Regions from separate parts of the Homo sapiens genome. Here regions 1, 2 and 4 are each linked to region 3. The links are contacts of gene promoters, found by promoter capture Hi-C in blood cells and fetal thymus (Javierre and others, 2016). All regions are on one chromosome and are shown on one strand. The core of a region is centred on a gene start or on the middle of the fragment in contact, and the rest is flanking DNA. Distances in the headings are between cores, read along the strand shown. Region 1 overlaps C1S (complement C1s). Region 2 overlaps CHD4 (chromodomain helicase DNA binding protein 4). Region 3 holds the start of GNB3 (G protein subunit beta 3). Region 4 overlaps ZNF384 (zinc finger protein 384).

Region 1 (5,681 bases), core at 265-2,764, 230 kb after region 3:
TCAGGATAGCCTGAAACTCCTAGCCTCAAGCAATGCTCCCACCTCGGCCTCCCAAAGTGCTGGGATTATAGGTGTGAGCCACTGCACTCAGCCTGAAGATAAAATTATCTTTTCTCCTGACCCTTATTTTCTTCTTATTTTATGTGACATTTAATGCCTCTTTTATTTGTATCTCCCACTTCCCAATTTTACCTCTTCCCTTTAGTTCTTTCCCTCTTCTGATTTCATCATTTTGTTCAGTTTGTTGCAGGAGATCGGCAATTTGGTCCTTACTGTGGTCATGGATTCCCTGGGCCTCTAAATATTGAAACCAAGAGTAATGCTCTTGATATCATCTTCCAAACTGATCTAACAGGGCAAAAAAAGGGCTGGAAACTTCGCTATCATGGAGATCGTGAGTAACTTAGAAGTGCCTCTTTGGTTGGTGATACCAAAGTCCCCAAACAATGTGGGATCAAAGCAGGTAGATGATCCAGGCACACTGGAAGCACCTGTGATCTCAGCTACCGAGGGAGGCTGAGGCAGGAGGATCCCTTGAGCCCAGGAAGTAGGAGTTTGAGTCCACTCTGGGCAACAGAGCAAAACCTTGTCTCTAAAACAAAACAAAAACAAAGCAACAATAATTTAAAAAACAGATAGATTGTTGTTCTGATAGAATCCTGAGATACTTCACTTCTTCAGGAAAATCTAAACCAGTCAACGGTTGCTAGAAATGCCTCAACCTCTAGTAATCCTTTAACTAGACCTGAGACTGCAGACAGCTTGCGGGTGGTTAGTTGGTAATGCCATATGATTTTAGACATCTGCTGTATTGGAATGTTAAGCATCAGGATTGAGGACAACTGGACGATTTTAGAAAGTGTGAGAATGATGTAAATAGAATGAGAGTCTTCAACTATTTAGTAATTTTTTCCTCCTGTCCCAACTTCTGTTCTTTCAAGCAATGCCCTGCCCTAAGGAAGACACTCCCAATTCTGTTTGGGAGCCTGCGAAGGCAAAATATGTCTTTAGAGATGTGGTGCAGATAACCTGTCTGGATGGGTTTGAAGTTGTGGAGGTAAAGTACCACCTTGGCTTCTCCCCAGTCCCTGGCCCCAGATCAGGATGAGCGGACTGAAATTGTCCAGTTGTTTACCCAATGTATGTGTGTGATCAAGGTATAACACCTTTCCCATAAACACAACAGCTTAAGATCTGTAGTTCTCCCTTGTGAGTCATGGAGCTGCCTGGCCAGCTTGGCATTCTCTCTGCCTTCAGTCTTCTTGAGGAAGGGGAGTTGACACGTTGGGGCAAAGCTTTCTGTCAGCCTCATCTCCTGGGTGCTTTAGGTCTGCTAAGATGTTCCCAAGCTTCTTGTGGTGAGGACTCCTCATTGATCCAAGGCCAGAGATCAATTCCAGTTTTGATTTTGGTTTCCCATATCTCTCTTCAGAAATAAGTGGTGATGTTTATTATTCTCCAGGGACGTGTTGGTGCAACATCTTTCTATTCGACTTGTCAAAGCAATGGAAAGTGGAGTAATTCCAAACTGAAATGTCAACGTATGTGTCTCTTCAAAGTGGAAGTCTTTCTTTTTCTCTCAGAGAGAATGGAAAGATCAGCACATCAAAATTCAAATGCATGGTTTCCTCTTAGGCATGTGAGGGAGTGGGTTGGGTTTTTGAAGGGAAGCCAGTCATGGAAGCTTTTCTAGTCCCAGCCCCGCATCTGGTCCCAGGCCAACTAGATCGGCATGTTTCTTTCCAAGAAAGGGGCTATGGGATAGGTCGAGTTAGTAGCCCCACGTGGGTGCATTTGTGGCTTCCACTGGGCCTTCACCAACCACTGAGAACCAGGCTCTTCACTACGGCTTTCATGGGGCCATCTGAATTGGCATCTCAGCGGGTGAGAGAGCTGAGAGATGCCAGTTGGGGAGGATGGCCACAGAGAGGCTGGTGTGGGGAGGTTCATCCCAGGTGTGCCTGTGGATATGGGGTGGGGAAGCAGTGAGGATGAACCTGGCCCCATGACTCTTCCTTGGAGGAAGTGGCTGTCCTGACCATCGCTCTCCTTCCTTCGTCTGGTAGCTGTGGACTGTGGCATTCCTGAATCCATTGAGAATGGTAAAGTTGAAGACCCAGAGAGCACTTTGTTTGGTTCTGTCATCCGCTACACTTGTGAGGAGCCATATTACTACATGGAAAATGGAGGAGGTGGTAGGTTTCTTCTACTGGAGAAGAGAGAGAGAGAGTGAGAAGGTGTTGGAGGGTGGATAGCATAATCTGTGCCAGAGACAGAGTTTGGAGACAAATGAAGGCGATAGGACAGACATTGTTCATCCCCTTGGCTTCGTCCAAAGATACAGTTTTCATCTGGAGCAGGGCAAGTTCAGGGGAGCATCAGCCTCAGGGAATCATAGAGGTCACCAACTGAGTTCACAGCTGCAGCAGGAATTCCCCTACAACATCCATTTCATGGGATTACCCACCTTTTGACCAGTTATTTCATGTAAAACCCACAGGAGCAATGCCTTCAGCTTTAAGCCACCAAACTACACTGACTGGCTTTCTTGATGTAGAGGCTTTGGTCATGCTAGGTGCAGGGCTGAATGAGACCCTAATACGTTCTCTGCATTGCTCTGTATTTATTTCGCCACTTTCCCGATGCCTTCTTTCCTTCTGCTTTGGAGATGTTCCCTTTGTCTCCCTGGCAGGCTAGAGGCCTGAGGGATTGTTTGGAGGAAGATATTTTTTTTCTGGCTGATTTAATCTGATTTACTACTTGAATCCTAGACGAGCTGAGGTTCTGAAGGAACGGGGCAGGGTGTTGGGGTCGGAGGGGGGAATGGAAGAAGGAAGATGTGGTGGTGAGTGTGGCCTGTGTTCTCTGTGCTATTCCAGGGGAGTATCACTGTGCTGGTAACGGGAGCTGGGTGAATGAGGTGCTGGGCCCGGAGCTGCCGAAATGTGTTCCAGGTAAGGAGGGCTGAGGCTTGGGGAGAGATGATAGCCATGGGTGACTGGGAGTCACCTTCTGAAAGCAACTGTAATCCTCTTGGGAAAGGACTGAACAGTGACCTGCCAGAGTCCAGCTCAGTGAGGTGGCAGTATCACTGTGCCGTGGGCTGCCAGGGCCGTGGGGAACCTCCTCAGCCGCACTGAAGCCAGGCCAACTGGAAGGAAATAGAAACGTCAGCCAGCGACAGTTGGTGTCTGGTAATGTAGCTGCAGTGAGAAGATACAGAACTGCTAAAAACAGGGCCTGAAAGCTGAGAGTGTGTGAGTAATCAACACTCAGAAACAAGTCTAGCTAAATAGCCTAGTTATTATATTAAAAGTTTATAGGGCAGCAAGATATAGAGGAATTCAAAGAATGAGGAAGATAAGAGTTGGGTAGCAGAAGGCTGAGGCAAATCCAATAGGATAATAACCATCCTGGGTGGTACTGAAAGCTGAAGACTGAGCTGATTTGTTGCATTTATTATCTCATTCGTGTCCGTATAACAGCCCTGTGAGCTAGGTGTCATTGGTCTTATCTGACCAATGTCAAATGTGAATGGGTGGGGTGCAAGTTCACAGAGTTAGCAAGTGGCAAAGGCAGGCTTTGAGCCCAGGTCTGTCTAAGTTCACAGCCCATTGTGCTCAACTTGGAGTCCCTCCAGGCTGTCTAGTAAGGGATTTAAGTAAGCAGCTTCACTTGAATTCAGTTATTAGTATAACTGAATGGTAATGGCACCAGTCACTGGGAGTGAGAGGTCAGGGCCAAAGAAGGGACCCCTCTCTACTTCCTAGGCTGACCTGTGGTTTACTAGGAGGGACTCAGGTGCAACTAGGACTCCAGTAAAGAAGGTGATTAAAGTTTGATCTGGGCATCTGAAGAAGGCAGAAATCTTTCCTCCTCCACCATCTGTGTGAGAAAAGGGTTTCCAGCACTGGCTCTTGATTGGGCACCGGCCTCATGTGCCGAGTTGGGAGGTGCAAAGGGGACCCCTGCCTCCAGGGGGGCTGTGGGTCGCACTGTGGATAGTGTGAGGCATTAGTGCATCTGGACTCAGTGATTCACACACTGCCTCCGTTTAACTGAGCTCTCCCATGAGCCAGCTTATGACATCGGCAAAGCGGGATGTTTAGGTAAGGCCAGAGTGGGTCAGGTATTGAGATTGTTGACCAAATAGGGTTGACTATTTTGTACTAGAGAATCCTGCAACCTAGCAGGTAACATTATGTGAGTGGTTGGAGGATTTGCAGGAAGCCAGCATCATTTCTTCCTCCTTCCCTGTGTTGTTTTATTCCTTCCTAGTCTGTGGAGTCCCCAGAGAACCCTTTGAAGAAAAACAGAGGATAATTGGAGGATCCGATGCAGATATTAAAAACTTCCCCTGGCAAGTCTTCTTTGACAACCCATGGGCTGGTGGAGCGCTCATTAATGAGTACTGGGTGCTGACGGCTGCTCATGTTGTGGAGGGAAACAGGGAGCCAACAATGTATGTTGGGTCCACCTCAGTGCAGACCTCACGGCTGGCAAAATCCAAGATGCTCACTCCTGAGCATGTGTTTATTCATCCGGGATGGAAGCTGCTGGAAGTCCCAGAAGGACGAACCAATTTTGATAATGACATTGCACTGGTGCGGCTGAAAGACCCAGTGAAAATGGGACCCACCGTCTCTCCCATCTGCCTACCAGGCACCTCTTCCGACTACAACCTCATGGATGGGGACCTGGGACTGATCTCAGGCTGGGGCCGAACAGAGAAGAGAGATCGTGCTGTTCGCCTCAAGGCGGCAAGGTTACCTGTAGCTCCTTTAAGAAAATGCAAAGAAGTGAAAGTGGAGAAACCCACAGCAGATGCAGAGGCCTATGTTTTCACTCCTAACATGATCTGTGCTGGAGGAGAGAAGGGCATGGATAGCTGTAAAGGGGACAGTGGTGGGGCCTTTGCTGTACAGGATCCCAATGACAAGACCAAATTCTACGCAGCTGGCCTGGTGTCCTGGGGGCCCCAGTGTGGGACCTATGGGCTCTACACACGGGTAAAGAACTATGTTGACTGGATAATGAAGACTATGCAGGAAAATAGCACCCCCCGTGAGGACTAATCCAGATACATCCCACCAGCCTCTCCAAGGGTGGTGACCAATGCATTACCTTCTGTTCCTTATGATATTCTCATTATTTCATCATGACTGAAAGAAGACACGAGCGAATGATTTAAATAGAACTTGATTGTTGAGACGCCTTGCTAGAGGTAGAGTTTGATCATAGAATTGTGCTGGTCATACATTTGTGGTCTGACTCCTTGGGGTCCTTTCCCCGGAGTACCTATTGTAGATAACACTATGGGTGGGGCACTCCTTTCTTGCACTATTCCACAGGGATACCTTAATTCTTTGTTTCCTCTTTACCTGTTCAAAATTCCATTTACTTGATCATTCTCAGTATCCACTGTCTATGTACAATAAAGGATGTTTATAAGCAAATTTTGTGTGACTTACCTCATTCCACACCAAACCCTCAGAATTATAGAAGGGGAATGGGATGAGAAGGCTGTTATGTCACTGAAATTGGGCATCCAGCAACTAATATTTAATTTAATTGTCACGAAAACAGGGAATTCAGCTTTTCTTCTCTCTTCCAAATGAGATTTACTGAATATTGTGGGTTAGTATGAAGATCGCCAGTGTAAGGCATCACATTCTGCTTTT
Region 2 (5,805 bases), core at 1,086-3,585, 240 kb before region 3:
ACATAGTGAGACCCTGTCTCAACAGAGATTTTTTTTTTTTAATTAGCTGGATGTGGTGGCATGCACCAGTACTCCTAGCTACTCAGCAAGAGGTTGAGATAGGAGGATCACTTGAGCCCAAGAGTTGGAGGCTGCAATGAGCTATGACTGCACCACTGCACTCTAGCCCGGATGACAGAATGAGACCCTGTCTCCAAAAAAAAAAATTTTTTTAACAAAAAAATTGAAAACATTGTAAGCTACCAAGACCCTGAGGCAGGGTGTCAACACAGGGACAAATGTTCTCAGCTAGAAGAACATTGCTTCATCTCCTCTTAAGAGAGCTGGCAAAACATCAACTCCTCAGTTTGAAGTTAGTCCTATATTTTCCCAGGACAAAAGTATCCCAACACTATAGGATGAAGGAGAATACCTTTCTCAGGGCTGAAAAGCTCATAGTTCCTCTCCTGCACCCCAGCCTCACAATAGCCTACATAGAAAAGACTACACTTTCCCATTTTTTGCCCCGGCTGAGATCAGTCACTCACCGTACAACGGGGACAGAGCCATTCACCGTTGGGGATCTCTGGAAGTGGGGGATTCAGGCAGTGGATGTGGTAGGAAGAAGGACAGGTATCACAGCAGAGCAGTTCCCCACCATCCTTGCAGACCCGACAGAATTCCATATGGTGGTCATCCTCCTCTTCGAGGTCTCCCCCAACCTCTTCCAGGATCTCCTCACCCTCCGAATTGTCCTCTTTAGCTTCCCACTGGATGCCTTCCTTCTCCTGCAGTAAAGGACCACAGATTCAGATTATTACCCCCACCCGCCCACCGCAGTCTGAAGCCAGTGCCCATCATTCCTTTGAATGCTTCCCAAAGCTCACAACCCGCAGCACCAGCATTTCCATTTCCATCCAGGCCCCGAAGAGCTTTACTGTCCCACCCTTCTTCTCATGGGTTCCAAGGGGCCACAATGGCCAGACACTCACGCAGTGTGGGCAGCTCCACTTGCCCTCGGGAGCCTTCTCCATGTCGGGATCCAGGCAGACCATGTGGTAAGCACGGGGACAGGTATCACACAGGATGATCTCACCGCCTTGCTGGCACACCTCGCAATAGTCCTGGTGGTCTGTCTCATAACCATCCACAGCAGTCACCTCCTCCTCGCCTGGGCAAGGAAGAGGGAAAGCCCAGTTATTGGAAAAAAACTACCTCCCCCCACCCCCCGACCCCTATCTCCTTAGGGAGATTCTTCCCCAATCACTCCCACCTCATCCCATCACAAATATACAGAAGAGAAACACACCTTTCTTTTTCTTTTTAGTGGTTCGGAGTTTCTTGCGGCTGCGGCTACTACGGCTGGTGGAACCATCAGAAACAGAATAGCTATTGATACTGGCATCATCGAAGTCAGATTCCACATCTAAGTCATCATCCTCACTCTGGCAGGATGAAAAAGAATAAGGTTAGACGTTCAAGCCAAGGGGAAGGACAGAGTGGCAGAGAGGGGAGTACTCTCTCACTGGGGACACCAGAATCCCAGCAAGCACCGTTATACAGGGAGCCTAGTCTCATCTTGTTCTGTGGGAAACGCCCCACATTCTTACGTGCCTACTATGAAGGACAGGTTCTGATAGAAGGTCACATCCTTTCTATTAGACATGGCACCCTCCCTAAAGCGATGGGCTGGGCTCTCACCGAGGATCTCTTACGCTTGGAACCAAAACCTCCCAGCTTGATTTTCAGGGGAGCTACTTTCTTGGGTTTAGGCTTCTTGGCATCAGGTACACGAGGGCTGCCCTTGGGCTTCCTCCGAGCATTGGGACCTAAAATCAGGATATATCCAAATATATACCACAAGACCAAAGATGGGGAAAATAAAATCTTCTCCACCTAAGCTTGCTTCCCCACATTCAGATTCCCAAATTTCCCTCCAAAATCCAAGACTCATTCCTCCCTCCTATCTCCTACCTTAGGGCTGACAGACCAGCATTCCCATGCTGTCTTTGACATCTTAAGCCCACACTAGACACCCCCACTCCCATTTGAACCCCATTTCACCTTTGCCCTCCTTGGTCTTGGCCTTGCGGATAGGCACCTCCACAGGGGGAGGTGGTGGTGCAACCTCAGTGGCTGTCACCATGCTCTCCACCACAGCTACCGCTGCTGCTGCCGCAGCTGCCACTGATGCCCCAGAACTGCCTTTGAAGGGGTTATTGGTACTGAACTCCCGCCATTTTGCACCCAAAACCATCATCATCTTGGAGACAGCAATCTTGGGATTTTTGGCAGCAATGAGGGGTCTGGTGGAGAAATGCACAAGAGCAGAGGGAAAGGTTTAAGAATAAAAAAAGAAAGAGAAGTAAGAAGAGAGAACAGAAAGATTCTCCTCCCCCTTCCCCAAACCCCTTCTGTTTTACCTGACAAACTGGCTGAAGGCCTTGTAGTTGGTGAGGGTTCGATAATCCTCCTCTGAGAACACGTGGTCAATGTCTTCCATGCCCCAGTCTTCCAGGAGCTGAGCAGATGATTTAGGCTCCTGCAGAAAGAGCAAAGTCAAGTAAGTACCTGCCACCTAGTGCCCACACTTGCTAAGCAAATTTGTGTGGAAAAATCAGAGTAACAGAGTTAAGAGGAAAAGAAGAGAAAGTGTTCTAAAGGGCAGTAAGGTGTCTAGGAAACAAAAAGACAAAAGTTTAACAGTACAAAGAAGAGGATGGAGGTCCAGGCACCTTTGAATCATCATCATCATCCTCCTCCTCCTCCTCCTCCTTCCGCTTGGATTTGCTCTTCTTCTCTTTCTTAGGTCCAAGCTTCTTCTTCTTCTTCTTGCCAGGAGTATAGTCGCTGCCCTCACTGTCTGAGCGCAGAGCCACCTCTTCCTCCTCCTCCACAAACTCTGGCCCCTCCCCAGAGCTGTCCCCCAGCTGCCGGCATAAGAGCATACGCTGGAGCAGGGCAAGGGGGGAAGAGGGAGACAGACACACACATGCTACACACATGCTGACCTCAGGACAGCCCTGAGGCTCATCCCCAGAACATGGCCCACCACTTCTGAGAAAGAAACAAATGCCCTCAGCCCTTCAACCCTTCTCAGAGCTCCTCCCTTCTTCCTCTGATTCCCCGTAACATTCAGTCACCCACTCACCTCCTTTTTTTGGCGCTTGCTCTTAGGGATTTTAGGGTCCCGAGGTTTCTTAGGCTTTTTCTTCTTCTTGAGCTTTGGAGTCTCTGTTTCTGACAAATCCTCTTCTGGGTCCTCTTCATTTTCTACATATATTTGGCAAAGAGTGGTAGGCAGGGAAAAGATCAATAGCAAAAGGTTAGGCCCTAATCCAGAGGCTTTAGACTTTATTCCCCACCTCTTGTCCCAGATTCCTCTGAAGAGAACTGCTATACTCTGTACAGGAGGAAGCTGATACCCAGGACAAAAACAGACAAAGAGAGAGCTGTATATACCCGAAATAGGCCTGCCAGGCCAGACCAGGCCCACCTCGGGCAGCTGTCCAGACCCCTGCCTCCTCTCTCCCGTTCCTACCAGTCCTCTAGATGTTCACCAGTACAGCTGAACTGAGCTGCTCAGAGTTCACCAAGTAAGAGAACTAGATTTAGGCCTCCTGTAACTGGCCACCAAGTTATTCTATAAACCAGGGAATGAGAATGAAAGATCCTACTCAGAAGGCAAAAACTATAGAATATACCTTCCCAGAACAGGATCAGTTCAGGGGTCTCGGAAACCACACCCTTCTCTAACCACTTTGAAGTCATCACTGCTCAAATTAACCAGAACCTCCAAGTCCTAGGTTCAGGTGCCAGCTCAATCTCATGCCCACTTCTAAAATACAATTTCCTTTCCCCATCTCCAACCCTAATGTTCCTCCTCAGCTTCTCCTGGGTCAGCAGCCTCTTCTCCCTAGGGGCCCGAATCAGCCCAGCTGTCACCATCTCCCCTACACCCGCCCCCCAGCAAGCCTCCTCCCATCTGGCTCCACCTCCTCCCCTGGCTGGAGGCACACACAAAGCCTGGGTAAGACTGAAAGCTCCTGGGCAAGGATAGGTGGGAAGGGACACAGAGAAGACCAGGAGGCAGCTTCCTTTGTAACAGACATTCACACTGGCTCCGACTCCCTCCTCCCTCCTCTCTCCCTCTTCCCAAGCCACCCCCGCCCAAAGGGGGGTGGGTAGAGAAAGGAGTGGAGAGAAGAAGGGAGTGCCTCACCCACTGAGGAGAGGGAAAATGGCTCCTGACCGCAGAAGCCAGCCCAGGGCACCCAGCTGCCAACATAGGACAGACAGGAAGTGGCAGGGGAGGGGGTGGGTTTGAGAGAGGTGGGGTGGCGGGGGGGGAGACTGCCCTCATAGAAGCCTCCCCAAATTACCTGGCCCCAGGTCCAAATGCCACCTACTCTGGGATGACAACAGTTCACAAGAGCCCACCCTAACATCCTAAGCAAGGAAACCCAAGGAAAGCGAGACAAACATGAAGGTAATACTAAGAGAAGAACTCGATCACTCCCTCAATCATAATTATTTTTTCAATCATCAGAGCTGAGATTTAACAAAGGCTCAGTGGACTTGTGGTCAGCGCATACAACCTTCTCCCCAAATTTCTGATACCCAAAAGATTTAGTTTGAGGAATGGAGGCCCACAAGAAGTCTCTGAAGCTCAGCTTCCTCACCACTCCCACCCAGATTCCTATCCAACATATGGGAATGTCTGCACAAAAAAACAGAGCAGGACCTAGACAGTGGTAGAAGAGAATATCCCAATCGGGTGCAATGGCTCATGCCTGTAATCGCAGCACTCTGGGAGGCTGAGGCGGGCAGATCATTTGAGGTCAGTTCGAAACCAGCTTGGCCAACATGGTGAAACCCTGTCTCTACTAAAAAAACAAAAATTAGCCAGGCATGGTGGTGGGTGCCTGTAATCCCAGCTACTCAGGAGGCTGAGGCAGGAGAATCGCTTGAGCCCGGGAGGCGGAGGTTGCAGTGAGCCAAGATCGCACACTGCACTCCAACCTTGGCGACAGAGTGAGACCCCATCTCAAAAATAAAAAAGAAAATAATATCCCTCCTTCAATCCCTGACATGTTCTTAGCTCTTAACCCCCAAAATTAGCCCTAAAATGTCTCTGGCTCCCCACTTCCTGAGCTAGACAGATACTAGGGAATGAGACATTAGGCTGGACAAAGCACCATCAGCCTCCCTGCTTCTCAGCCCAGAATAAGACCAGGCACAAGAACGCCCCTCCCATTCCCCCTTGGGAATGCAACATCAGCCTGGATTTCACCAGAAAGAATCATTTTCTTAAGGACTTTTCCCCACCAATCCCCAAGTCAACCCCCAACCCCCATCAGCTACATCTCACCACCCCCATAAAAGCTGGAAGTGGAGACAAAGACAACCCATGGAGGCAAAGGGGACATCCTTCCATGCACATGGAGCCCCCCAAACTTCTCAGGCAAATAATATGCTGAAATGGCAAACCGCAAACTTACTGAGATATAGAGAAGATTTAGGAAAGGGACAGGAATGGGGTGTGGCAAGTGGAAAAAGTGGGTCATGCTACAGCTCAGGACAGAGTTCACAGCTCCTGCGCAGCTCCCGGTCAACATGAAAGGCAGCCCCAGCCCAAGTGGCCAATGGGAGGCCAAGACGTGGAACCCAGAATGTTTAGGCAGCACTACTGTTTCTCATGCCCCTCTCAGAAGGACAGGGTCCCCTTACCAGCACCACAACTCCGCCCTCACCTTGGGCAAGGGCATGGAAATCTGCCCCCTACTCTACACAAGGATGAAACCAAGTTTCTCATCCCAACAGCCC
Region 3 (5,662 bases), core at 698-3,197:
GAACCTGCCCTCATCCCTCCAGGCTCGGGTGCGTCCTCGCTGTGGGCGCCTTGTGGCCTTCAGCTCCGGTGTCGAGAATCCCCATGGGGTGTGGGCCGTGACTCGGGGACGGCGCTGTGCCCTGGCACTGTGGCACACGTGGGCACCTGAGCACAGGGAGCAGGTAAGGAGCGGGGTAGGAAGGGATGTGGTTCTCCTGGTGCGTGAAGGGTGGGCAAGGAGCCCCCGAGAAGGCTCACAGTCGGTGAGGGTCAGGGGCTGAGCTGACCCAGGGAAGGTGGGTGCAGGGAATGGGCCACACTCTCCTCCCCAACCCCAGGAGTGGATAGAAGCCAAAGAACTGCTGCAGGAGTCACAGGAGGAGGAGGAAGAGGAAGAGGAAGAAATGCCCAGCAAAGACCCTTCCCCAGAGCCCCCTAGCCGCAGGCACCAGAGGGTCCAAGACAAGACTGGAAGGGCACCTCGGGTTCGGGAGGAGCTGTGAGTGGCTGAGCCAGCTCCTTGAGGATGTGGCCACTTGACTTGTGGAAGGCCATCTTGATGCCAGGACACACAGGAAGCCCCTGTGTGACATCAGGAGCAGAACAGCAAGCTCTCTGTCCCTGCACCCCCACCATCTTGGGGACCTACAAGGGCCTGGACTCAGAGGACAGTGCACAGGCTAGCCTGGAGCTCACCAGGCCTGGGGAGCTGGGACGGGGCCCCGCTGCCGGACCTGCAGCCCTGGACAGATGGGGAACACTGTGCCTCCCTGAACAGAAATGGCAGGGGAGGAGGCTGATGCTTTAAATGAAGAGGATGGTGGGGTTGGGAGGTATAACCCTGCTCCTCTCTCCCAGTCTGTGCAATAAAGGTCGTGAAGATCTCTCAGCCAGGGGCCAGTCAAGTGTATCACAGATTCTGTGATGGCTGGAGGTGGGGGTGGCTCTGGCTGGCCTGGGAGGAGACAGGTGTCTTTGGGCCTCCCAGAGGCGGGGCGCCTGGAGCCTGTGATTTGTCAGGGAAATCTCAGCCACCTGCTCCCCTCATGCAAATGACCCAAGCCCCTGGCAGCTGCTCCTTAGGCCTCCAAGTGTAAGCCCTGTCTTCCCTCTCTGAGCTTTGCTGAGACTTAGGGCCGCCTGCTTTCTCTCTGACCCCTGCTTTCACAGCCTCGAGAGGGCAAGGAGGGGGCCAGACCCCAGCCTGGGAGCAGCGTGCGGGCCTTCCCTCCACTTGAAATCCGTTGCCCGCCCACAATAGGGGCAGACCTGTCCATCCTTCTCTGTGGGTCCCCTGTACCTTTCTCCCCCAACAGGATCAGACCCAGAGGCAGCTGGTTGGGGTTTGTCGAGAAGAAGGATTATCCAGATCAGTCCTTTCTAATCTCAGCTCCTGCCTGTACCCTCCCATACTCACCAAACCCTCTTCCCCACCACCCTGAGCTGAGGAGCACAGTTTGAGGTACTGACAATGGGGCCATCTATCACCCTTATATCCCACCTCCTGGCCTGGTTGCTAAGTGGCCCTGACTGCCAAGATCATCACCATGGATGGGGGCCGGGACCAGGGGGGCCACTGGAGCTGTAGTTGTCTGCTCCTTTGCACCCCTCCCAAACCCCAACCCTTAATCCTCACAGCTTTGCTCTAATCCTGTGGGGCCTGATGCTCTTATCTCTGCCTGCAGAGACTGACCAGGGAAGCACCCCTTCACCCCCTCCTCTCTCAGGGCTTGTGGTGGGGGCTGCCCCTCTCTATGGCCCCACACTCCTGCCCCCAACCCTCCTCCCGGCTGGGCCCAAGTCTCTCTGGAATCCGTACACCTCCCTCCCTCCCCCCACCCCTTCCCCCCACCCCTGCCAGCTGATTTCATTTGCCTGACGTTGTGGTTGGCTCTACCCTTCCCTGTCAGGCCCCCCCAACCCCCCGCCGGTCGGGGCCAGGCCAGGCCAGGCCAGCTCCTCTGGCAGCAGAGCCTGGGCAGGTGACGGGCGGGCGCGGGCGTCGCAGCTGAGGGAGTAAGGAGGCTCCCAGGAACCGGAGCTGGAAACCCGGCCGAGGTCCAGCCAGAGCCCAAGTAAGAGGGAGCTGGCCTGGGCTCTGCTCTCCTGGGCTGGGGCGCAGGCAGGGCTCAGGCAGGCTGGGGCTGGACGCAAAGGACCTCAAACTTGGAGGGCCTAGCTGGGGAGAGGGTGCAGCCACCCAGTCGTTTCCCTGTGTCTTGGAGTCTGGTGTGGGCACGAAGGGCAGAAGCACAGCCTGGTGGGGGGTTCCTCAACACCGACCCCATGTTCCTGGCAGGAGCCAGAGTGACCCCTCGACCTGTCAGCCATGGGGGAGATGGAGCAACTGCGTCAGGAAGCGGAGCAGCTCAAGAAGCAGATTGCAGTAACTCCAGAGCCCTACCCCTGGGGCCCCAGAAAACAGCTGGGGACATGAGGAGCGTGGCCCAGGGGGAGGGGGCTGGGTTTGCTCTTGAGTGACTAGAAGTGACCAGGGACTTTCTAAACTTGGTTCGCATATTTGAGACCCCCAAGCCCCAGAGCCCCAAGACCAACCTGCCCTGAAGGCCCATGCACCTGCCACCCCCACCTCGCCCTTGCTCCCCTGATGTCTGCTTTCCCTGCAGGATGCCAGGAAAGCCTGTGCTGACGTTACTCTGGCAGAGGTAAGACCCCCTGTCCCCCGGAAGGCAGGGCATGGGGGGAGGGGAAGGGAGCTCCCCGACCCGCAATAGCGCGTTGCTCCGAGCATTAGTACAGCACGTCCTTGGAGTGAGGAAACCCATTAATTAATTCATTCGACCAACATTTTAGCGGGACCTGCTCTGAGCCAGGCACCATATTGGATGCGAAAGATGCGGACACGGTTCCTATTCTCATCCGTAGAACAAGAGTGACCACAGCCCCCTCCCAGGGCCTTGAAGATGAAGAAGCGATAGTACTTTGTAAATTATAAAGCCCTTGTAGACTCTAGCTGCTAGTTTTCTATGCTGTATTTTGTCAATTCTAAGATGCACATTTCTTCACATTTTGACATCTCTGAAATCAAGGTGCATTCAGCAATGGATCATTGTTTCAATTAGAATTGACAGCATCTTTTCTTTCTTAGTGATGCATCTTAGATTGGATTAAATATGTTAATAGTGAACACTTTTTATGAGCCAGATACTGGGCTAAGCTGCATAAATACCTGATTTCATTGAATTTTCATGATATCTCTGTAAGGTAGGTGCTATGATAAGCCTCATTTTACACCTTGAGTAAACAGACTCAGGGAGGTGAAGCAACTTGCCCAAGATAACAAAGCAGGCCGGGCGCAGTGGTTCACGCCTGTAATCCCAGCCCTTTGGGAGACTGACGTGAAAGGATCACTTGAGCTCAGGAGTTTGAGACCAGCCTGGGCAACATAGTGAGATCTCTTCTTAATATAAAAAAAATTGCTTTTAACTTTTTAAAAAAAGATAGCAATGCAAGTGATGGCAAATCAAGTCTGTTCACTCTGGACCCCCAGCCTAAGTCTAAAATGTGGTTAGAGCTCAAGGGGCATAGTACCACAGATTTCAGGAGGTACAGTTCAGGGTCATGGTGATGCCCCAGGCACCCAGTTAAAAAGCTAGCCGTGCTGCAGCGGTGGGTGCAAGCAGGCTCCTCTCGGCTTGGGAGAGCCAGCTCTGTGCATCTCTTCCCAAATCTGTTTCCAATGACCTCACATTGGCAGCTGGAAACTGGTCAAAGTGCAAGTATTCGTATCGTGGAAATCACCTTCCCACCTTCCTCACCAACACTGGAGAGGTGCTTGTTAAACACTTACAAGCAACACACCTCTGGCCATGCATGCATCTCTTTCCCACATCAGTCTAAGACACTCCAGGGCAGAGACTTATTTCTCTAAGGCTGGGGGCCTGACCTAGAGCCTGGCACAGAGCGGGAACTTGTATAGATCAGTGGCAGTGACAGACATCTGGGCACGTAACCTGCTCACCCTGATATTCAGTGCCCCTCTCTCTGCAGCTGGTGTCTGGCCTAGAGGTGGTGGGACGAGTCCAGATGCGGACGCGGCGGACGTTAAGGGGACACCTGGCCAAGATTTACGCCATGCACTGGGCCACTGATTCTAAGTGAGGCTTGGGGGGGAACCGAGAATGGGAGGGTGAGAGCGGGAGTGAGGAAGGCGGGAAGGGGAGGCTTGCATGATATGGGATGCCCTCTCCCCAGGCTGCTGGTAAGTGCCTCGCAAGATGGGAAGCTGATCGTGTGGGACAGCTACACCACCAACAAGGTACCAGCCCTGCCTCCCTGAGCCTCCACCACTGCATCCTTCCTAAGGGCGCCATGCCTACCCTCCTGTGCCCAGCTGGGAGCTTGGCTCCGGTCCCATCTCTGCTCAAACCACCCTCCCTGCAGGTGCACGCCATCCCACTGCGCTCCTCCTGGGTCATGACCTGTGCCTATGCCCCATCAGGGAACTTTGTGGCATGTGGGGGGCTGGACAACATGTGTTCCATCTACAACCTCAAATCCCGTGAGGGCAATGTCAAGGTCAGCCGGGAGCTTTCTGCTCACACAGGTGAGGGAGAGACCCTCTCCTCCCCTCCTGAGGGGTTCAGGGAACCCTGGGCTTCCAGTGGGCTGTGGCTCTGCAGCCAGGGCACTGTCCTTCTAACCGCCTCCAGGTTATCTCTCCTGCTGCCGCTTCCTGGATGACAACAATATTGTGACCAGCTCGGGGGACACCACGTGGTGAGGCTGAACATTGCTGGTGCTGGGGCTTGGGAGTGGGCCCGGCCTTTCTCTAACAGTCTCCCTCCATTTTGGCAGTGCCTTGTGGGACATTGAGACTGGGCAGCAGAAGACTGTATTTGTGGGACACACGGGTGACTGCATGAGCCTGGCTGTGTCTCCTGACTTCAATCTCTTCATTTCGGGGGCCTGTGATGCCAGTGCCAAGCTCTGGGATGTGCGAGAGGGGACCTGCCGTCAGACTTTCACTGGCCACGAGTCGGACATCAACGCCATCTGTGTGAGTGCACCCCCCACCCCAGCTTCACTCCAACTCCTTCCCCGACACTCCCCACAACACATACAATACACATCCTCTGCCCCTCCCATAGCTTCCCTAGCCCTTTCTTACTGTATTTTTTTTTTTTTTTTTTTTTTTTTTGAGACAGAGTCTCACTTTGTCGCCCAGGCTGGAGTGCAGTGGTGCAATCTTGGCTCACTGCAACCTCTGCCTCCTGGGTTGGAGCAATTCTCCTGCTTCAGCCTCCTGAGTAGCTGGGATTACAGGTGTGCGCCACCATGCCCGGCTAATTTTTGTATTTTTAGTAGAGATGGGGTTTTGCCATGTTGGCCAGGCTGGTCTTGAACTCTTGACCTGAGGTGATCCTCCCACCTCAGCTTCCCAGAGTGCAGTGCTGGGATTACAGATGTGAGCCACTGTGCCCAGTCTTCCCTAGCCCTTTCTTTCTTTCCTTTTTTTGGAGACAGAGTCTCACACTGTTGCCCAGTCTGGATGCAGTGGTGCTATCATAGCTCACCGCAGTCTCAACCTCCAGGGTTCAACCAATCCTCCCACCACAGCCTCCTGAGTAGCTGGGACTACAGATGCGTGTGACCACGCTTGGCTAATGTTTTGATTTTTGTGTAGAGATGGGTTCCCACTATGTTGCCCAGGCTGAGCT
Region 4 (5,263 bases), core at 1,196-3,695, 170 kb before region 3:
CAGGCGCGTGCCACCACACCTGGCTAATTTTTGTATTTTTATTTTACTTTTTTGAGAGAGAGTCTCACTCTGTCGCCCAGGCTGGAGTGCCATGGCACGATCTTGGCTCACTGCAACCTCTGCCTCCTAGGTTCAAAAGATTCTCCTGCCTCAGCCTCCTGAGTAGCTGGGATTGCAGGCGCCCACCACTATGCCTAGCTTATTTTTTGTATTTTCAGTAGAGACGGGGTTTCACCATACTGGCCAGGCTGGTCTCGAGCTCCTAACCTCATGATTCACCTGTCTCGGCCTCCCAAAGTGCTGGGATTACAGGCGTGAGCCACCGTGCACGGCCATCAATTTTTGTATTTTTAGTAGAGATGGGGTTTCACCATGTTGGCCAGGCTGGTCTTGAACTCCTGACGTCAAGTAGTCTGCCTGCCTCGCCCTCCCAAAATGCTGGGATTACAGGCGTGAGCCACCGCACCCAGCCTTAAAGCAAGTTACTTAATTCTCAAAAAAGGTATCTTCAGAGTTATCTAGTCCAATCCCTTCACTAACAGTTGAAGAAGCACCCTGGCCAACACTGGTTGATGGTAGGCAAAGGGCTGAAGTCCAGGTTTCATGACCACATTCTACTCCATAGTACTACAGCTCTCCTGCATAAATCAATCTTGCACCCCTTAACCGGTTATGATTTCCACAAGGTAACAAATACACATATGTATACACATTGCCAACTGCAAGCCCCTCTTCCACAGACTCAGGCAGGAGTGTAGGTCCTTTCAAGAGGCTTCCATTTTTCTTCCATAGGGAGCTTAGCTGTTTTGTTAACACATAACCAAAGCCTTGCTCTCACATATTTAGGCAATGCAATCCCCATGACAGAATGTGTATGTAGAAGTCCTCATAAACCAGGATTTCACTGGAGACATCATGAAACTGTACCCTTCCATGACTGGAGAATTGCACAAATGGGGCATCATCACACAAGCACTTGTTCATCACACACACACTCTGGTATAAATCCTCAGTACTGTTCTTGGACATCTCCCCAAATACCTTTTCCGCATGCTCGCTCACATCAGTAGCTCCACTGCCTCTGATCCTTTTACATGAATTTATTTCTATACAATGTTCTAAAAACACCCCTTGGTTTGTACATAAGTTTTTTTCTTTTTTTCTTCATTTTTAAATTACTTTATAACAACTGGTTTCCTGATTTTTTTTTTAATTTCCTTTCCTCTGAAATCTGCCATGATTTAAAAAAAAAAAAAAAAGACAAAAAGAAAAATGCTGTGGCTAGAGGACAGGGGTGGAGAGAGGGAAAAAAAGGACAAAAATAAACAAAACATCAAATATGAAAATTCTCAGAGATAATGCATTTATAAACACAGAAATGGTTACAACAAAGATGGCCGTGATGAGTGAGTATAATATATTTATATATATATATTTATATATAAATCCGTGTCCGGCATCTGACTGTGGCACCTAGGGAGCTAAGTCCAGTCCTTGCGTTTGCCTTGAACTCTCCCTTCTCCGCAACACCCCTGTTTTGGAGTTTCACAGATAACACAAAGCCTCCCACAGCTCCTTGGGGGTGGGTTGGGGAGACTGAGAGTATAGGGTCTTTGTAGGCAGAGAAGGAGAGAGGCTTCAAGGAAATCCGTAAAACCATAACACACACTTCTAAGCCACCTGTGACCAACTTGGGAATTTCTGGCCCCTTGGGGACCACATCTCAGCCCTTGCCCCCTTCAAATAAAAGGAGGTCTAGCCCCTACCCCAAATCTCCTTCTACCAGCAGTCAATAGGAAGCAAAGTGAGACGATGTAGGGGAAGAAATGGCTCTCAGGGACTGAGGCATTTGAGAAACCTCTGTTCTTTTGCAGGCAAGAATAGAACAAGAGGCTGGTTGCATTTGGGGCTCCCTTTTCTCTGTTATCTGGGAGGGCCAGCCTCTAGTCTTACATCAGCCCAAACTTTGAGGATAAGGAGGGTAAGGATAGGGTAAGTGGCCACACTGGACAAGGTTCTATGAGGTCATAGCAAATCCTTCCCTTGAGCACCGACCCCCAGTTTTAGAAGCTTTGCTTGGGAGGGGAGGCTGCTGGATGACACCATCAGCTCAGTATTCCTTTGCAATCAGGAGGGCTGATGTTCCTTTTGAAGAAGAGTTCAGAAAAAGGATGGTATCCTGTGAAGGAAAGCCGTGACAGAGGCCCAAGGAGATGGAGCCAAGGCCTGTCAAGGAAGAAAAGGACTTTTCCCACCAAGAGTTGGAGAAAGAAGACACCAGGACTACTTCTTCCTCTTCCCAGTGGGTGGCAGCACGGATCTCTAAGAGCTGGCCAGGTGCTCCACCTGGATGGTGCTGGTGGTGACAGTGAGGCAGATGTCCTTATGATGCTCCGCCGTCTTATACGGGGTCAGGTCAAAGGAACACTGGGGTGGAGGGTTGGGATTGCTGTCCCCACCACCCCCACCCTGGGGGGCTGCCCCAGGAGACTGGAAGTGTGGTGGTGGCTGTTGCTGCTGCTGCTGCTGCTGCTGCTGCTGCTGCTGCTGCTGCTGTGATGCCTGGGAGGCCTGGGCCTGGGCCTGGGCTTGAGCCTGAGCCTGAGCCTGGGCTTGAGCTTGAGCCTGGGCCTGGGCCACTGCTGCCGCTGCTGCTGCTGCCTGCACCTGTTGCTGAAGATCAGGCGGGTTGTGTTTGCGCATATGTTTCATAAGGTATGTTTCCTGAGGGAGATGGTAAAAAGAAGTTGAGGGATAAAGAGGAAGGAAAAGAGATTACTTGTAACTAGCACCCCAGGCTCTGATTCTGCTGTAAGCAGAGTAAGCTTTATACTGGTTTTCTGGAGCCAAGACTGAGCAAAACTCAAGTAGCACTTTCAGTGGCTCACTACTGAGAAAAAAAAGAGAGGAACCTTTAGAAGTCACTCAACATTCAACTGGCAAAGGAATGAGCTGCTATTTTTTTCAAAGACCCCTGAATGAAACAACTTTACAACCTTTTCTGGAGTCTCATGGAAAATATCTAACTGGGCCAGGTGCGGTGGCTCACACCTGTAATCCCAGTACTTTGGGAGGCTGAGGTAGGTGGATCACTTGAGGTCAGGAGTTTGAGACCAGCCTGGGCAACATGGTGAAACCCCATGTCTACTAAAAATACAAAAAGTTGCTGGGCATGGCAACATGCACCTGTAATCCCACCTACTTGGGAGGCTGAGGCAGGAGAATCGCTTGAACCCAGGAGGTGGAGGTTACAGTGAGCCGAGCCGAGATCACACCACTGCACTCCAGCCTGGGTGACAGGGCGAGACTGTGTCTCAAAAAGAAAAAAAAAAAAAAAAGAAGAAGAAAATGCCTAACTGAAATCCAGCTCCCCTCAAAATTTCAAGTGGCTTTATTTTGCCTTATGTTTAAGTAAAATGAAGAATTACAGCTTATGCGTCTCTATAGGATTAGGAGATCAGGCATCCCCTAAATTCCTCAGAATGGGTCTAATTAATTTCTGAATATTTACCTGTTCTGCTAAGTTGGAGCTAGGGAGGCAGGGTATTCACTGCAACAGATCTCTACCCAGAAAATGGGGTGAAGTGGACTGTACTCTTAGAGGACTATGAGGAAGGAGAGAAGAAACGGAGCACTCACTGATGTGTATGCCCGACTGCAGATAGTGCAGGTGTACACCTTGGCATGCTTCACTGTGTGCGTAGACAGGTGCACCTCTAGTGAGGCTGCATCCGTGTACGCCCGATGACAGTTGTGGCACTTGAAGGGTTTATCTTTGTTGTGTTGCCGTCTGTGGGACTGAGAAAATTGGGAGAAACCAGAATGAATACATTGTACTCTTTCCTCCTGCCCCCTTGACCTCGATGGAAAGCAAAAAGGTAGGTGTCAGGCCTCCCAGCTTCTCCCTCTATCTGAAGAAAGTAGAAATTGTTTCAAATGAAACTTGAGAAGCTACAGGCTAAGGGTGGAAGCATACCTCATGTAGCACATACCAGGATCCCAAGACAGCTTATGCCCGTCTCACCAGTCCAGTGGTTCTTAAAATGAGGCATGGGGATCTTTAGGGAACACTAAGACCTTCACAGGGGGCCCACAGGGTCAAAACTCTTTTTTTTTTTTTTTCCCAGATGAAGTCTCTCACTCTGTCGCTCAGGTTGGAGTGCAGCGGCACAATCTCGGCTCATTGCAACCTCCGCTTCCCGGGTTCAAGCGATTCTCCTGCCTCAGCCTGCAAGTAGCTGGGACTACAGGCACATGCCACCAGGCCTGGCTAATTTTTTTTGTATTTTTAGTAGAGACAAGGTTTCACCGTGTTGGCCAGGCTGGTTTCCAACTCCTGAGCTCAGGTGATCCGCCCGCCTCCGCCGCCCAAAGTGCTGAGATTACAGGTGTGAGCCACCGCGCCCAGCCAAATCTTTTCAAAATAATAAGACAATGTTTGCCTTTGTCTCTCTTGAACCTGGGAAGTTGCAGTAAGCTGAAATCACACCACTGCACTCCAGCCTAGGTGACCCAGCGAGCCTCTGTCTCAAACACGCACACGCGCGCGCGCACACACACACACACACACAAACACAAAGATGAAAAACCTAACTGAAATCTTGTTCCCCTCAAAATTTCAAGTGGCTTCATTGTGCCTTATGTTTTACATGTAACCCTTACAGAGGTTACATGATGTGTGATAACACAATAGGCCAGATGCAGCAGATCTGAGAATCTACTCATCTTCTAGCTTAAGACATTAAAGACCCCTGTGCCAGGTGCGGTGACTCATGCTTGCAATCCTAGCACTTTGGGGAGGCTGAGGCGGGAGGATGGCCTGTGTCCAGGAGTTCGAGACCAGCCTAGGGAAGATAGCAAGACCCCATCTCTACGAAAATGAAAAAAACAGCCAGGTGTGATGGTGCATGCCTAGAATCCCAGCTACTTGGGAGGCTGAGGTGGAAGGATCACTTGAGACCGGGAGGCTGAGGCTGCAGTGGGCCATGATAACACCACTGCACTCAGCCTGGGTGACAGAGCAAGGTCCTGTCCCAAAAATAAAAAATAGACACCTGCAAAAATGTATAATAATGCCATTCTTCTCACTCAGTTGTTTTTGGAGGGTCTTGGAATATGTTATTTATGTTAACACACAATGGGTTTATTTTTGTTCTTTCTAAACAGATTACTATTATAAATATTTTTCAGGTTTTTCAGTTTTACAACGTCTATGTAGACAGCTATTACCCACATAAACAAAAACTCTTTGGGTCCCTCAATA

What was found. The method cuts DNA at HindIII sites, captures the fragments that hold promoters and counts their contacts. A CHiCAGO score of 5 or more calls a contact.
Region 1: a fragment that was not itself captured here is called in contact with the fragment with the promoter of GNB3 in region 3 in 1 of 17 cell types (activated CD4 T cells); the score reaches 7.1 in activated CD4 T cells.
Region 2: a contact is called between a fragment that was not itself captured here and the fragment with the promoter of GNB3 in region 3, in 13 of 17 cell types (activated CD4 T cells, total CD4 T cells, non-activated CD4 T cells and 10 more). The highest score is 16.4, in activated CD4 T cells.
Region 4: a fragment that was not itself captured here is called in contact with the fragment with the promoter of GNB3 in region 3 in 12 of 17 cell types (naive CD4 T cells, activated CD4 T cells, non-activated CD4 T cells and 9 more); the score reaches 14.8 in naive CD4 T cells.

The regions. Positions count from the first base shown.
Region 1 is chr12:7,065,577-7,071,257 of GRCh38, forward strand. It overlaps C1S (complement C1s), which reads left to right. Exons shown (of 12, transcript NM_001734.5): 7 at 241-394; 8 at 942-1,057; 9 at 1,463-1,541; 10 at 2,067-2,195; 11 at 2,880-2,954; 12 at 4,279-5,456. The coding sequence ends at 5,075. Among named protein-coding and RNA genes, the nearest start is that of C1S, 7.7 kb to the left of the region's middle. The HindIII fragment of the contact is 335 bases long and covers 1,348-1,682 here.
Region 2 is chr12:6,599,246-6,605,050 of GRCh38, forward strand. CHD4 (chromodomain helicase DNA binding protein 4) reads right to left here. Exons shown (of 40, transcript NM_001273.5): 3 at 3,131-3,252; 4 at 2,715-2,930; 5 at 2,403-2,521; 6 at 2,044-2,285; 7 at 1,681-1,808; 8 at 1,289-1,424; 9 at 972-1,150; 10 at 528-767. Among named protein-coding and RNA genes, the nearest start is that of CHD4, 5.2 kb to the right of the region's middle. The HindIII fragment of the contact is 915 bases long and covers 1,879-2,793 here.
Region 3 is chr12:6,838,978-6,844,639 of GRCh38, forward strand. GNB3 (G protein subunit beta 3) reads left to right here and starts at 1,948. Exons shown (of 10, transcript NM_002075.4): 1 at 1,948-2,056; 2 at 2,281-2,367; 3 at 2,609-2,647; 4 at 3,993-4,099; 5 at 4,197-4,260; 6 at 4,386-4,548; 7 at 4,655-4,721; 8 at 4,800-5,001. The coding sequence starts at 2,311. P3H3 (prolyl 3-hydroxylase 3) reads left to right here. Exons shown (of 15, transcript NM_014262.5): 14 at 23-163; 15 at 320-870. The coding sequence ends at 484. The HindIII fragment of the contact is 12,557 bases long and covers 1-5,662 here.
Region 4 is chr12:6,665,392-6,670,654 of GRCh38, forward strand. It overlaps ZNF384 (zinc finger protein 384), which reads right to left. Exons shown (of 12, transcript NM_001385745.1): 11 at 3,640-3,798; 12 at 1,086-2,724. The coding sequence ends at 2,323. Among named protein-coding and RNA genes, the nearest start is that of ING4, 4.9 kb to the left of the region's middle. The HindIII fragment of the contact is 755 bases long and covers 2,069-2,823 here.